2 separate regions of the Homo sapiens genome follow, and region 1 is linked to region 2. Evidence: promoter capture Hi-C in 16 types of primary human blood cells and fetal thymus (Javierre and others, 2016). All regions are on one chromosome and are shown on one strand. Each heading gives the region's core, a stretch centred on a gene start or on the middle of the fragment in contact. The rest is flanking DNA. Distances are from core to core; before and after follow the strand shown. Region 1 holds the start of ARL2BP (ARF like GTPase 2 binding protein). Region 2 holds the start of ZNF319 (zinc finger protein 319).

Region 1 (3,608 bases), core at 792-3,291, 760 kb before region 2:
TTTGCTGTAAGCTGTGTGACCAGGGCTTGACTAAACAACTCAGTCCAGTAATTCAGCAAATCTTTTTAAATGCCTATCTTCCACTTGGTGCTAAACAGAGTAACTCATAATTGATGTCACCTGACCGGGTGCGGTGGCTCACGCCTGTAATCCCAACACTTTGGGAGGCCGAGGCGGGCAGACCACCAGAGGTCAGGAGTTCGAGACCACGCTGGCCAACATGGTGAAGCCCTGTCTCTACTAAAAATACAAAAATTAGCCGGGTGTGGTGGCACGCGCCTGTAATCCCAGCTACTTAGGAGGCTGAGGCAGGAGAATCCCTTAAACCCGGGAGGCAGAGATTGCAGTGAGCCGAGATTGCGCCACTGCACTCCAGCCTGGGCAACAGAGCAAGACTCCCTCTCAAAAAATAAATAGGCCGAGCGCAGTGGCTCACGCCTGTAATCCCAGCACTTTGGGAGGCCAAGGCGGGCGGATCACCTGAGGTCGGGAGTTCAAGACCAGCCTGACCAACATAGAGAAACCCCATCTCTACTAAAAACACAAAAAAATTAGGCATGGTGGCGCATGACTGTAATCCTAGCTACGCGGGAGGCTGAGGCAGGAGAATCGCTTGAAACCGGTAGGCGGAGGTTGTGTTGAGCCGAGATTGCACCATTGCACTCTAGCCCGGGCAGTAAGAGCGAAACTCCATCTCAATAAATAAATAAATTAGTAATAATTTATGTCACCTTGGTCACAGCTGTCACACCCGACTGTGTCTTTGTAACCATCTTTGTTTCAGATCCCACGGATATCTATTTTAAGTCCATTCAAAGATGTCTGCTAGGCCGGTTGTGGTGGCTCACACCTGTAATCCTAGCCCTTTTGGAGGCCAAGGTAGGTGGATCATCTGAGGTCAGGAGTTCGAGACCAGCCTGGCCAACATGGTGAAACCCTGTCTCTACTAAAAATTCAAAAATAGCCGGGCATAGTGGCACGTACTTGTAATCCTAGCTACTCGGGAGGCTGAGGCACGAGAATCGCTTGAACCTGGGAGGCGGAAGTTGTAGCCAGCCGAGATCGTGCCACTGCCCTCCAGCCTGGGCGACAGAGCAAGACTCCGTCTCAAAAAAATAAAAAATGTCTGCTAACCCATTCTGACTGGCCACCTGACCCTCAGTTCATACCTTAAACCCCTCTAGTTCCTCTAGTCATATACCACACTTTGGCCATAAGGTATCATGCAACTAAAGAGACACAATGCTTAGTTGTCCAATCAAGAGAAATCAGCTCAAACGAATCCTTTTTCAAAGTTTGGCAGTTTTGAAGAGGCCTTTTCCTGAAAGGTATCTGATTCCTGATTGCGTGGCTCAAAATAGTTCTTCAATTCTCATCTTGTATAATTAGTCAAGAAACCAATTACTGCCGAGTAATCTTTATGATGCGAAGATTATAACGTAAATTACAGGACATCGACTTCTTGCGATGGGGCTTTCCTTCCACGAGGGGTAGGAACTGTCTTGAAATCAGACGTCAGCATCACCTGGTTCAAGGGATAAGGGACTGGCTCTCCAGCGACTTGGCAACTTACAAGCGCTCTTTAAACACGCCTTAAACTACTTATTTAATCCTCCACACTCAGGGAGGCGCAATTTATTCTCGAGTTGCGAGTGAGGAAATTCTGGCTCGTGGCTTCGATTCCTTCATCCGTACAATGGGGGCGACTTGAGACGGAGTTCCCACACAACGGGTGCTCGCCGAAGCGCCGCATCCCTCCGCACTCCCTTCCGGGACTTCCTCTCCCTGTCTTGCCCCGCCCCGGCATCGGTAACGCTCGCCTGTGATTGGATGCCGGCCGGCCGTGAGGCGGTGGAAGGGGTTGCGGTGGCCATGGTGACAGGAGGCGGGGCGCCGCGCCCCTCCGGCAGTCACCGAGGCCCGGACCTGCGGCGTCGGCGGCGCGCGCAGAGGGCCAGGCGGGCGTAGAGGCCGGACCGACGCGTGGCGGCAGAGGGTATCCAAGGCCGGACCTGGCGCGCAGGCGCTGACCCGACCTGGCAGTGAGCTGGCCGCGGCCTTGGCTGAGAGGCCTTAACCCCGCCGGGCGGCCGCGCCCTGCATGCGAGTTGGGCCGCGGGCGGGGTTGGAGCCTACTCGGGGCGACTGCGATGGACGCCTTAGAAGGAGAGAGCTTTGCGCTGTCTTTGTGAGTAGCTCCTCCAGGGCGCAGGCGACTTGGGGCCGGAGGCAGCGGGCGTTCGCCCCGGGGCCTGACCCTATAAAACAGGTGTCCTTAGGGGCCGGGCCGGGCCGGGCCGGGCAGGGTGGGGGCCGCCAAGGCGCCGTCCCAGCTCCAGGCCTTCCTTTTGTAGAGTACTAAGGCTGCAGGTTTCAGGCCCCGCAGGACAGGAGTGCGAGGCGGGTGTCACCGTTGATCAGCGCCTCCATCACAATCCCCAGCCGCCAACCCTCAGCTGTCAGCAAAGCCTGGAGGGGTTGAGCGCCCGAGGCCCCTCCACCCCTCCCTGGCCCCCGCCTCCCGGACTCCTGACCAAATGACCCCCCCCGGCAGGTGTTTCGCCCGTGCCGGGTTCATGCTCACAAGCAGACAGGTATGGGGTGATAGCTAAGAGCCTGGAGAACAAGTTTTTATTAAAGTGGAGTCATGACATTGAACGTTCATGTCACAAACGTGCCGAGTGTGTTTTCTTCTGTTTGGACTTACTAGATCAGTCAGTCATTCTTAATCGTTGAAGATGGGTGATGGGAAGTTCGTTTTGCTACTCTTTTTTCTCTTGTGCATGTTTGAAAACGTCCATACTAAAAACATTTTTTTAATGCATTATTTGAAATAGCACCTAATCCAGGCATGTTTTTCAGCTCCTCCGCCTCTGATGCAGAATTTGATGCTGTGGTTGGATATTTAGAGGACATTATCATGGGTAAGCTTTTAAGATACTGTTTTTAAGGACTTGCTTGTTTCTTTAAGGACATTGAAATCAATTTGGAGAGTTAATTTTAAAAAGAGAAAACATCAAGCTGCCTGCAATTTTTAATGTAGCACAATGTAATACTTAAGTAAAGGCTTACTGCAGTTTGTCTTAGAAACAAACAGCCCAGTACTCCTGAAAACATCTAATAAGCATAGATTCAGAGGCTGGAAGGGACTGACTCAGGCTAATAGGGCACCAGCAGTGTGGCGTTCTTCGCAAAACTATAGGAAATAATGATCTACTCTATTTCTTATGTAGGGTAAGAGCAATTTCAATTTTAGATAGTTTTGAGTTTTAACATTTTCATGCCATAAAACACATAAAACCAGGCCAGGTGCGGTGGCTAACGCCTGTAATCCCAGCACTTTGGGAGGCCGAGGTGGGCGGATCACGAGGTCAGGAGATCAAGACCATCCTGGCTAACACGGTGAAACCCTGTCTCTACTAAAAATACAAAAAAAATTAGCCGGGCGTGGTAGCGGGCGCCTGTAGTCCCAGCTACTCAGGAGGCTGAGGCAGGAAAATGGCGTGAACCTGGGAGGTGGAGCTTGCAGTGATCCGAGATCGTGCCACTTCACTCCAGCCTGGGCGACAGAGCGAGACTCCGTCTGGAAAAAATAAAAATGAAAATAA
Region 2 (3,332 bases), core at 490-2,989:
ACTTAGAGCTAAGGAGGCCAGACCTCCCAGGTCTGAGAGCCCAGTGGCAAATGGCCTCTGACAGTCAATATTTAGGACAACTACGTGGAACCAAGGACCATTTCAAAAACTCTCACCTATGAGGGACTGACCACACCCCTTCAACTATCCCTGACCACAGGCCCATTCTCTCTCCGCGTGACAGGATGGGTGGCCCTACAGGAACCAGAGCCCATAGGTGATGGGGGCTAGATGAGAGGGCCACAGAACCACCCAGGCTTGATGTCCACACAGCAGAACTTCCTCACTCTGGTTCTCTCCCAGAACTCACACACACACACACACACACACACACACACACAAAGTCCTAAATCCTCTGAATCTCATAGTGTCAAGGCCTGCAGGAAAATGTAAGAAACTGCCCTGGTCTGCCTTGGCAATGCAGGATGCAGCATGCTAACCACAGAGCATTTCTCATCACCTCTCTAGAGACAACTCCATTCCCTTACTCCAAGCCTATAAAGTTCTGGGTAATTGTTGGAAGGTAAAGCCCACCCAGCCCAGGCAAATCTCTAACTCACCACTTTGTGGCAGCATGAGGTAATGCCAGCGAGAGGGAGGAACTTTCAGAGTCAGATGCAACCCACTTCCAGGTTCCCAGCTCATCTGCCTCTTACATTTAAAAGTTTGTAAGTTTTCTCCTGAGCAGAGGAAGAAGGAAGGAGAAGCCTTCACAGGACAGTCTGGCCTCTAACTGCTCTGCCAAAGAAATGTAAGAGTCAGGCTAAAAGCTGTCATCCTCAGCATCTTCCGGAAGGGAGGGAGGAGAGGAGCGGCTGCTCTGGGTGGAGGCAGCAGGTTGCTTGAGCAAGCAGGTACCACTCTAAGCCTTCTCGGGACAGAGAGGGGGAAGGTGGGCTTCTCTGAGCGCCTGTAGGTCCGCTGTGCCAACCCACTGTTTTGTTTGCTTTTTCTGGCATGAATGGCTGTCAGACAGTGTCCCCTGGCTTGGTCTGCAGCACCCCCTGCCCACCCTGGCCCTCCTGCAGCAAGGTGCAGCCAGGAAGCCTCTGTGATCACTCCGCAAAGGGGAGAGAGGAGGCAAGGAGAGGCAGGGGAGGCCCCCCACCTGCGCCCCACCCCGTCTCTTCTTCCTCCCTGAGAAACCGAATGAAAGCCGATCACCTCCCGCCGGCCCTGCCTGCAGGCCCAGCTGGGCTGCGTCCTGTCAGCCCTCGTCCGGGATGGCCCGGCCGCTGCGACCCGAGGGCGAGCCCCGAGGGCGGCCGGGCTGGAGAAAGGCCCCAGGGCTACAGGCCGGGCCCAGGAAGCGGCTGCGCCTCGAGGCCCGGCCTGGGCCGCCCAGAAGCTCAAGAGGCCGCTAGGTCGCGGCGGAGGGGCGCGGGGGGGCGGCCGGGCCGGCAGAGGAAGGGGTGCGGCGGGCGCGGGGGTGGCCCCCAGATGCGGCCCCGGGCGCCCCGCCGCTCACCTGCTCCAGGCCGCCTGCAGGGCAGGCGCGGGGCGAGCGGCGACCAGCTGCTCTCTCGGCCGCCCCTTTATTCCGGCTCCATCCGCGGCGGCGCGGCCTACGCGCGCTGCCAATCCCCGGCCTCGCGTAGCGGCTGCGGCCGGACCGGGGGCGGGGGACGGGCTAGCGGCGGCCGGAACGGAGGAAGCGACGCGCGCTGCCGGAGTAGCGGGGCCGGGGCGAGGAGCGCCGGGAGGGCGGGCGGACGGACCGATGGCCTTGCGGAGACGGGCGGACGGGCGGGCGGCGCGGGGGCCAGGGAGGCGGGGCCGGGGGAGGAGCGGCATCCCGGGCGGCGGCGGCCAATGCGGGAGGAGCGGGCGGCGCGGAGCGAGGCCGCCCCCTGCCGGGGACCCCGTGGCCGGGCCAGGTCGGACAAGCCGGGTGCTCCGGGCGGTTTTCGAGTCGCCAGGCCTGGGCGCCTCGACTAACCGAGGAAGGGCGCTCTGCTTCCGGCCACCCCGCTCGGGCTTAGGGGAGGGGGCTCCGGGTGACCGCCCTCGGCCCGGCTCTGCGCAGGAGAGGAGGGGCCTCCTAGAGGCTCTGGTCTGCCACAATTGATCCGCCCCTAACTGCTCAGCTTGGCTTTTAGGGGCTTGGACTTTGGGCTGGTTTGAGGAGGGGGCTCCAGGACCTCTGATCCTGGCCGGGCTCGGGGCAGGCAGGGGTCTCCGCTGGGTCTAGTGCGCTGACCCGGGACTGTCGTGTCTGGTATGTCTGGTCCCGGGTGGCTGCAGACAGCAGCGGGCAGAAAGGTGAGGGCCCTGAGCGATATATGAAATGGGTACACGAAGGCTGGGGAGGTCCCAGCGGGGTGCCGGGAGGCTGCAGGTGACCAGATCCGCGTGCGCAGCCGGCAGACAGCTTGGAGTCGGTGGGCTGAATCTTCACCACTGTCCTGCCGGGTTCCGCCCCTCCCGGCTCCGCCCCGAGGCGGTGCCAGCCCAGGCCCCGCCCCTGGGAGGGCGCTTCCGGCACAGCGGAACTCCGGGTGCCGGTTGAGGTTGCTGGTGGACCTGCTCTGGTGGTCTTGGATGAGGCCCCATGAGCGCGGCGCCCCTGGTGGGCTACAGCAGCAGCGGCTCCGAGGATGAGTCCGAGGACGGGATGCGGACCAGGCCGGGGGATGGGAGCCACCGTCGGTGAGGAGTGAGGAAGTCTCTCCGGAGGGCGCGCGCATTCACCCTAGAGCCAGACGGGACCCGAATGTCTGGGGGTGGAGTGGGGAGGGAGGATGCGGGGCGGCTCTGGGAAGGAAAAGGGGACGCAGGAAGAAAGGAGGATCCAGAAGATATACCCCTCCCCCCCACCCCAGACAAAGCTCCAGAGTGGCCCCACCTGGCTAGGGCCAAGTTGGGAGGCCAGACCTGGGTTCGGGTCCAGCCTCGCGCTGGCCCACTCTATCGCCTGGCACACATCCCTGTACCATCCTAGGTCCGTTTCCTGATTTGAATACAATTGCGATAGTAATACTTGCTAAAGCGTAGGGAGAGCCTTTTCATTCATCCAGTAAATATTCACTGAGCACCCACTCCCTGCCAGGCTGGGGTCTGGTAATTCAGTGGTGAACAAAACCGTCGGCCTTACTTCCTGGGGCTTAGATTCTTAAATGCTAGGCCTTATCTTTGCTGAGTGCTTTACAAGCAGTAGCTCAGTTGATCCCACAATTGCTCTATCAGGTAGACATATACTTTCAGATGAGGCATTTGAGGCCCAGAAAGGGGACATGACTTGCCCAAGGTCATAGAGCTAGAAAGTGCTACTCCAGCTGCAGCCTGTCCAGCTTGGAAATGTGACCCCTGAACCACATTGTTGCATGCCCTGT

What was found. The method cuts DNA at HindIII sites, captures the fragments that hold promoters and counts their contacts. A CHiCAGO score of 5 or more calls a contact.
Region 1: a contact is called between the fragment with the promoter of ARL2BP here and the fragment with the promoter of ZNF319 in region 2, in 2 of 17 cell types (total B cells and neutrophils). The highest score is 5.1, in total B cells.

The regions. Positions count from the first base shown.
Region 1 is chr16:57,243,218-57,246,825 of GRCh38, forward strand. ARL2BP (ARF like GTPase 2 binding protein) reads left to right here and starts at 2,042. Exons shown (of 6, transcript NM_012106.4): 1 at 2,042-2,188; 2 at 2,863-2,924. The coding sequence starts at 2,151. It overlaps LOC124903697 (a long non-coding RNA gene), which reads right to left. Exons shown (of 2, transcript XR_007065082.1): 2 at 2,598-3,608. RefSeq lists silencers at 1,761-2,140, 2,231-2,440. The HindIII fragment of the contact is 5,456 bases long and covers 1-2,927 here.
Region 2 is chr16:57,998,933-58,002,264 of GRCh38, forward strand. ZNF319 (zinc finger protein 319) reads right to left here and starts at 1,740. Exons shown (of 2, transcript NM_020807.3): 1 at 561-1,740. It overlaps USB1 (U6 snRNA biogenesis phosphodiesterase 1), which reads left to right and starts at 2,475. Exons shown (of 7, transcript NM_024598.4): 1 at 2,475-2,649. The coding sequence starts at 2,552. RefSeq lists enhancers at 824-1,093, 1,951-2,120, 2,293-2,587, 2,614-2,713 and silencers at 1,214-1,343, 1,394-1,993, 2,284-2,533. The HindIII fragment of the contact is 9,268 bases long and covers 1-3,332 here.